Linked DNA regions of Homo sapiens: region 2 is linked to region 1. The links are contacts of gene promoters, found by promoter capture Hi-C in human tissues and cell types (Jung and others, 2019). All regions are on one chromosome and are shown on one strand. Each heading gives the region's core, a stretch centred on a gene start or on the middle of the fragment in contact. The rest is flanking DNA. Distances are from core to core; before and after follow the strand shown. Region 1 holds the start of ASH2L (ASH2 like, histone lysine methyltransferase complex subunit). Region 2 overlaps ADGRA2 (adhesion G protein-coupled receptor A2).

Region 1 (3,692 bases), core at 377-2,876:
TCATGGCGCGTGCCTGTAATCCCAGCAACTCGGGAGGCTGAGGCAAGAGAATCGCTTGAACCCGAAACCGCGAGGTGGAGGTTGCAGTGAGCTGAGATCGCGCTACTGCACTCAGCCTGGGCGACAAACCGAGACTCCGTTTCAAAAAAAAAAAAAAAAAGCCGTGCGCGGTGGCTCACACCTGTAATCCCAGCACTTTGGGAGGCCCAGGTGGGTGGATCACTTGAGGTCAGGAGATCGACACCAGCCTGGCCAACATGGTGAAACCCCGCCTCTACTAACAAAAATTAGCCGGGCGTGGTGACAGATACCTGTAATCTCAGCTACTCGGGAGGCTGAGGTAGGAGAATCGCTTGAACCTGGGGTGGAGGTTGCAGTGAGCCGTGATCGGGCCACTGCGCTCCAGCCTGGGCGACAGAGCGAGACTCTGTCTCAAACAAACAACAACAAGAAAACACAAAATTCTGCGACCATATGTTAAAACTGCTACAATACTACGTATTTGGGAGGAGATACTTAGATCAAGCATCCTGCTTCTCTTTGGAGTACCAACCCCTGATTTAAGTATTTATCATCAATTTTAAAAATGTAACCTGGCAACTCAGTTAGGTCTTTCTTCAATTTTGTTGAAAACCAATAATTGAGAACCAATTGGGAAATCAATATCTACGTATTTCCCATGGCGTCCAGTGGCCCAGAGATTCCTACACTATCGGTGGACACATCACAGTAAGATTAGACTGAGGATTGGCGAGGGGTGCGCCGTTCTTGTGTAAAGCGGGAGAAGAGTGTATTATCGTTAGGCAACATTTTAGGATATAGGATAAACACTGGTGTCCTGAAAACGTTCCTGGCCGCAACACTCTCAGAGGTTTGCATTCTCGAGTTTGGAGACCATGGCTCTGAAAGACTCAACTCACTCCACTGATGCCAGCCACCAGCTACTGTTGATGACTTCCCAAGTTCGTACTTTCAGTCCACACCTCTTCCTTTCGCTGGGCACCAAACTTGTCTACATTCCGAGTGCCCCGGCACACCCCGGGGCTTCGCTTTCCGCCTCTCACAGTAGGAAGCGGCGAGCCGCTTCTAGTGCCCACGCCGCTCCTCGGCTGCCCGGCCTGGGTTTTCCACCCTCGCCCCTGGAATCGGCCTCCCTAGATTCCCTTCCCTCTTAAAATCATTTGGAAACGGGCTCCAAGGGGCGACCCTGCGCAGAAAACCAAATTCCATCCGGGGCGGGCAGGGAGTGCTAGACTCCAAGGAAGACGTTTCCCACATTCGGTGGTGAGGAGTGTTTGGCGGCACGGCACGGCCAGCGCTCTCAAGGACCCTCTTCTGCGCAGAATATCCAGTCGTAGCCACGAAAATACGCCGCGTCAGTCCCTGACTCGAAAGGAAGTCCTCCAGAGAGCCGCACTAACCATCTAGCTTCCTCCACCTTCAGCCTGCCAGGCCCGCGGCCACCGCCGGCGCGGGAGGCCGGCCCACCTCTGCCCGCGCGCCTGGCCTTAAAGCGGTCGTGGAATTATGCTTCCTCAGGCAGGCGGTGGACGCACCGCGGGCTTTTTCTGTTTGAAGACTACAGCGTCACACAGCAACGCGCGCGAGAGAAGAGAGTATTCTCGCGAGAAGTCCAGGGGTGGCCGTGATGGCGGCGGCAGGAGCAGGACCTGGCCAGGAAGCGGGTGCCGGGCCTGGCCCAGGAGCGGTCGCAAATGCAACAGGGGCAGAAGAGGGGGAGATGAAGCCGGTGGCAGCGGGAGCAGCCGCTCCTCCTGGAGAGGGGATCTCTGCTGCTCCGACAGTTGAGCCCAGTTCCGGGGAGGCTGAAGGCGGGTAAGAGGTCCTGCCGCCCGAGGAAGACGCGGGAGGGAGGCCCGCCCCTCGCGAATCCCGCGGCTCCTGGAGCCCTGCCGCCCGCCCCCTGCGAACCCAGGCCCCGCCGCCAATGGCTCGCCCTGCCTCTGCGCCGCTTGGCCCGTCCCCTCTCAAGCATATCTCGGATAACGCCCCTTCCGCACCTTTCACGGGCGGTGGGAGCTGAGGCTCCTGTCGTTATCTCTGATCCTTGCACCCTGGCAGGAAGCTGGTAGCTCACACTTTAACGGGAGGCCTTCACATATTCCAGAAAAGAAACCACTTTGCAGTGCCAGACTGGAAGAAGTAACGGTCACTCTGAAAACAGGGTGGGAGAGCTGCCTCTCTTTGAACCTCTCCCAGGACCAACTCTAACCCAGGTAGATTTGACTGTAAAGGCCGGTTAGGCTTCCCTGTGCTCCGTGGGTCCGCGACTGTCTGACATGTCCACCTTCTCAGTATCCTGACAGTACCTTGGGCATCCAGTCTGAGATCAGGCTTAGCTGAAAAAGCTGCAGGAGTATGAAGTTCGGCTGTAATTTGATCATCATTTTTGGGAATAGGCATTTTGAGGTTTGTCTTGAGAATTCTTACTTGAGCGCTTTCATTATCTTATAGGGAGGCAAACTTGGTCGATGTAAGCGGTGGCTTGGAGACAGAATCATCTAATGGAAAAGATACACTAGTAAGTATTTTTAGTTGTTTGCAAGACAAAATAGGGTTTGTTTTAGTTATTTCTTCTTCTTCTTTTTTTTTTTTTTTTGTTGCGACGGAGCCTTGCTCTGTCGCCCAGGCTGGAATGCAGTGGCGCGATCTCGGCTCACTGCAACCTCCTCCCCCCGGGTTCCAGCGATTCTCCTGCCTCAGCCTCCCGAGTATCTGGGATTACAGGCATCTGCCAACACACCTGGCTTCTTTTTTTTGTCTTTTTAGTAGAGACGGGGTTTCACCATGTTGGCCAGGCTGGTCTCGAACTCCTAACCTCAGTTGATTCTCCCGCCTCAGCCTCCCAGAGTGTTGGGATTACAGGCGTGAGCCACCGCGCCCGGCCTTGTTTTTACATTTTTAAGCGAATCAAAAATACATTCAGGCCAGGCACGGTGGCTCATGCCTGTAATCCCAGCACTTTGGGAGGCTGAGACCTCAGGATCACTTGAGACCAGCCTGGGCAACATAGGGAGACCCCCGTCTCTTAAAAAAATAAAATAAAGTAAAATACATTCAAGTCAACTGATTTGAGTCTCGAACTGCTCTGACACAGGAAGGTGCTGGGGATACATCAGAGGTGATGGATACTCAGGCGGGCTCCGTGGATGAAGAGAATGGCCGACAGTTGGGTGAGGTAGAGCTGCAATGTGGGATTTGTACAAAATGGTTCACGGCTGACACATTTGGCATAGATACCTCGTGAGTACTTTTCATAGTTTTTGTGAGAATTGCTCGGTAAAATAAATCTGAACATGCTCAACAGTTACTTTGTGGGCAAAATAAATGCAAAGTATTTCCTATGTCTCCTAACCCCTATTCAGCAAGTAGGATGTTGAATCAGGAGTTGTTTTAATTCCCTTAGCATGTTATCTGCTTACTGAGGGCACAGCTCTGGTAGATACAATGGTGGGTATTGCCCCTCCTTTTGAGTTGACAACCTGGTTTGGAGACAAAAAAAAATGCAATTACAAAGTGTTATATAAACAAATTTAGAACAATATAAACCTTGTGTTGGTGTTTTGGATTTTTCAGAAAGGATATATGTGGATAAAGCCTGTTGTCCAAAATTTGAGATGACCCATGCTCTTTATGCCTGAACCATCCTTTTTTTCCTTTCTCATTGCTGC
Region 2 (3,692 bases), core at 649-3,148, 300 kb before region 1:
TTACTTGGACCCGGGAGGTGGAGGTTGCAGTGAGCCGAGATCGTACCACTGCACTCTAGCCTGGGCGACAGAGTGAGACTCCTTCTCAAACAAAAACAAACAAACAAACAAACAAACACTTTTTTTTGTTAGCTGGGCATGGTGGCATACTAGCTAGTCCAGAGGCTGAGGCAAGAGGAGTTCAAGACCAACCTGGGCAACATAGTGAGACCTCCATCACCACCTACCCCTCAAAGAGGTCTGCTTTCTTCACTCAAAAGTTTGGCTCCCCCCGGGGGGCTTTTAGGTTGTGCATGGAGGAAATGTTTAAGGTCAGTTGGGGGTAATTTCCCAGCCTCCACAAATCAGGGGGACACAGACACACACATAGATGAACATTCCATCCTGTTGGACACATCTCCCTCCACCTCCTATGAATGGAAGTTTGCAGATATGTGATGTATGATTTATGTTTGTAGGACTAGCCTGTTACACAAGGCTGAGTGCACAGTGGCTGTTAGGTAGCTCTGAGCAATGAATGAATGAATGGATGAATGAATGAATACCTAACTGTGGATGATTACAGCAGACTATGTTCCTTGTGCTCAAGCCAGGATGCTGTGACCCCCAAATCCCCATCAAGGTATACTGATTACCCCCAACTGTTTCCTCTTCCTCTCTGGCACCACCTCGGGTAGCTTCAGACAATGTGACCCCTATGGGTGTGGCATTTTCTTTTTCTTTTTCTTTTTCTTTTTTCTTTTTCTTTTTTTTTTTTTTTTGAGACAGAGTCGAGTCTCACTCTGTCACCCAGGCTGGAGTGCAGTGGCACGATCTTGGCTCTCTGCAACCTCTGCCTCCTGGGTTCAAGCAATTCTCCTGCCTCAGCCTCCCTAGTAGCTGGGACTACAGATGCATGCTACCTTGTCCAGCTAATTTTTGTATTTTTAATAGAGACGGGGTTTCACCATGTTGGCCAGGCTGGTCTCGAACTCCTGACCTCAAGTGATCCATCCACCTTGTCCTCCCAAAGTGCTGAGATTACAGATGTGAGCCACTGCGCCCGGCATGTAGCCCATTTTCTTAGGCTTCTGTCTCCAGATTCTGTCCCAAAGCCACAGATTCCCTTCCCATCCAAGCCCCAGTTTCTTGGTTCCCCCTGCTCACCACCAAGTTGGGGTGCCCTTGTAGAGAGGGTAGGTTAGAGAAAGGAGACTAGACCTATGAGAGAAGGCAGGGTGGAGCAGGACTCACTGCAGGTCTGTTTTCTCTCATGGCCTGGGCCTCCAGCCCTGCCTGGACAGCCCAGCTTCCAGGCTGGGTTCAGGGGCAGTCTCAGGACCCAACCCCCTAAAGCCCCTCCCTAGGCCTCCTTCTATTGCCAGTCGGTGTTCAGGGCTGACCTGACAAGCGTCCAGCCCAGGGAAGGGTGGCAGGGAAGTGCAGGAGCGGGCAGAACACCTTACATGTCCTCACCAACATTTATGTCCCTTGCAGTCAGGCTAAATGCATGTGAAGGCAGCCACGGAGGGACGGGAAGCCACAGGCCAGCCTTTCGCTTGAGGTTGTGTGTTGAAACAGGGCCTGTGCACGGCGAGCATCCTCACTTTTGGAGGTCTTACTGTCGTATCAACCATACTAAAATGTACCCACATCCGTCATCGAACATAATAATTATTGCTAATGACATAGTATGACATTGGGTAATTATGTCATTAAGCATTGGTTAATTTCCGTCTTTGCAGCATCTATATTTTAGAGGCAATGCTTCTTTTTTAGGTTTTAGGCATCTCTTTGAGCCCTGGAAATGCTCAAAGGCACAGCGGCTGCAGGGGAGGCTGAGAGCTCTGATTTCGGTGGGTGTTCGAGCCCCAGGGCTTTTTGGCATCAGCAAGCAGACTGCCCCCTACCAGTTCTGTGATGGTTTCCCTAAGACACGGCCAAGCTGCCAGTGGCAGGTGTTGGAGACAGGGCCTCCCAGACTCTGGGAACCTTTAGGAACCTAGTGATGGCCTGAACCGATGGAGGCTCCAGGATCAGACTCCCTAGGGAGTATGGATATCCCAAGTCCAGAGAGGAGCTCATTGGGTCTGAGTGGTTGGCAGGGGGCTGACATGCATGACTCTTCCCGCACATGTGAGAAACATTTAGTTCAGGCATGTGCTATGTGCCCACGTGACTCCTGCAGGGTCATCTTTGATGTTGGGGTGGTATCTGGTACGTTCCTGCGGCTGCCCAGAGCCCACAGAGCCTCTCTGTAGACGCCAGCCGCTTGCTCCCTTGGCCTCCAGCCTCATTAGTGGGAACTCTGCTTGCTTCTCTCCCACAAAATGGGACCCCAGCCGGGAGAGAGTTCTGGAATGGACTCGGTGTGCCCCCTCTCTCTGGCCAGATTTCAAACTCTGAAGTAGAGAACAGGAGACTCCAGGGACTGGCCCTCCTTCCTGTGAAAAGCTTGACATTAGGAGTGGGAGAAGGGCGTGGGAGGGAGGGAAGAAAGAAGCCGAAGATGCCTGGCCAGGCCAGCCAGGGCTCTGGGGCAGAGCTAGTGTGTGGTTGGGCAGGACATCTACCTGGCTGGCCCCCGTGAGGTTTTAGGGTCAGAGGACGGAGCAGGTTGAGGAGGCGTCTGTCTTGTGGGGGTTGAAGAGGGCCGAGGCTGACCCTATGTCTGTGTTGGATGGAGCTGTGGGTCCAAGGCTCCCTCCTTCCCTGCCCAATTGTGGCCACTTTGCCTGCTTTCCTCCCAGGGGACAGCCTAGAATGGTGGGAACATTTTTCTGCCCATTGGATGAAGCTGTGTGTGTGTGTGTGTGTGTGTGTGTGTGCATGGGCCTGCGTGCATGTTCATCCCCATCAGCAGTGCTGTAACACCCAGCTTTCTACCTGCCCATAAAAATGCCAGACCCAGCCAGGCACAGTGGCTCATCCCTATAATCCCAGCACTTTGGGAGGCTGAGGCAAGTCGATTTCTTTAGTTTAGAAGTTCAAGACTAGCCTGGGTAACATAGTGAGATCCTCACCTCTAGAAAAACTTTTTTCTTTCTTTATTTATTTTTATTTTTAATTTTTGTTTTTGAGACAGAGTCTTGCTCTGCTGCCCAGGCTGGAGTACAGTGGCATGATTTATCTTGGCTTACTGCAACCTCCACCTCCCAGGTTCAAGCGATTCTCCTGCCTCAGCCTCCAGAGTAGCTGGGATTACAGGTGCGTGCCACCACACCTGGCTAATTTTTGTTTTTAGTAGAGATGGGATTTCACCATGTTGGCTAGGCTGGTCTTGAACTCCTGGCCTCAAGTGATCCACCCACCTTGGCCTCCCAAAAAGCTGGGATTATAGGCATGAGCCACCGCATCTAGCCTCTACAAAAACATTTTTTTTTTAATTAGCTGGTCATGGTGGCGCATGCCTGTAGTCCTAGCTCCTGGGGAGGCCAAGGTGAGAGGATTGCTTGAGCTCAAGAGGTGGAGGCTGCAGTGATTTGTGATCATGCCACTGTACTCCAGCCTGGGCAATAGAGCGAAACTTGTCTCTCTTAAAAAAAAAAAAAAAGACCAGACCCCTGCACTATCTGTCTAAAACTGCCTGCCCTCCTCTCCCCAGATAGACCCACCACAAGGCACCCTCTGGAGAATAGAACCAGCAACTCAATGTCAATGGAGGCCCCTCTCTGGATAATCTAGGTCTAGAGTAAACTTCCTCAGACCTCTCC

The links. Contacts are between HindIII fragments. The study calls those that stand out against the background at their distance.
Region 2: a fragment that was not itself captured here is called in contact with the fragment with the promoter of ASH2L in region 1 in 1 of the 25 tissues and cell types used here (spleen).

Annotation. Positions count from the first base shown.
Region 1 is chr8:38,103,903-38,107,594 of GRCh38, forward strand. ASH2L (ASH2 like, histone lysine methyltransferase complex subunit) reads left to right here and starts at 1,627. Exons shown (of 16, transcript NM_004674.5): 1 at 1,627-1,836; 2 at 2,476-2,542; 3 at 3,119-3,264. The coding sequence starts at 1,649. RefSeq lists silencers at 1,395-1,484, 1,815-2,014 and an enhancer at 1,595-1,724. The HindIII fragment of the contact is 26,659 bases long and covers 1-3,692 here.
Region 2 is chr8:37,805,782-37,809,473 of GRCh38, forward strand. The region is part of intron 1 of ADGRA2 (adhesion G protein-coupled receptor A2); the gene reads left to right. Among named protein-coding and RNA genes, the nearest start is that of ADGRA2, 11 kb to the left of the region's middle. The HindIII fragment of the contact is 6,704 bases long and covers 1-3,692 here.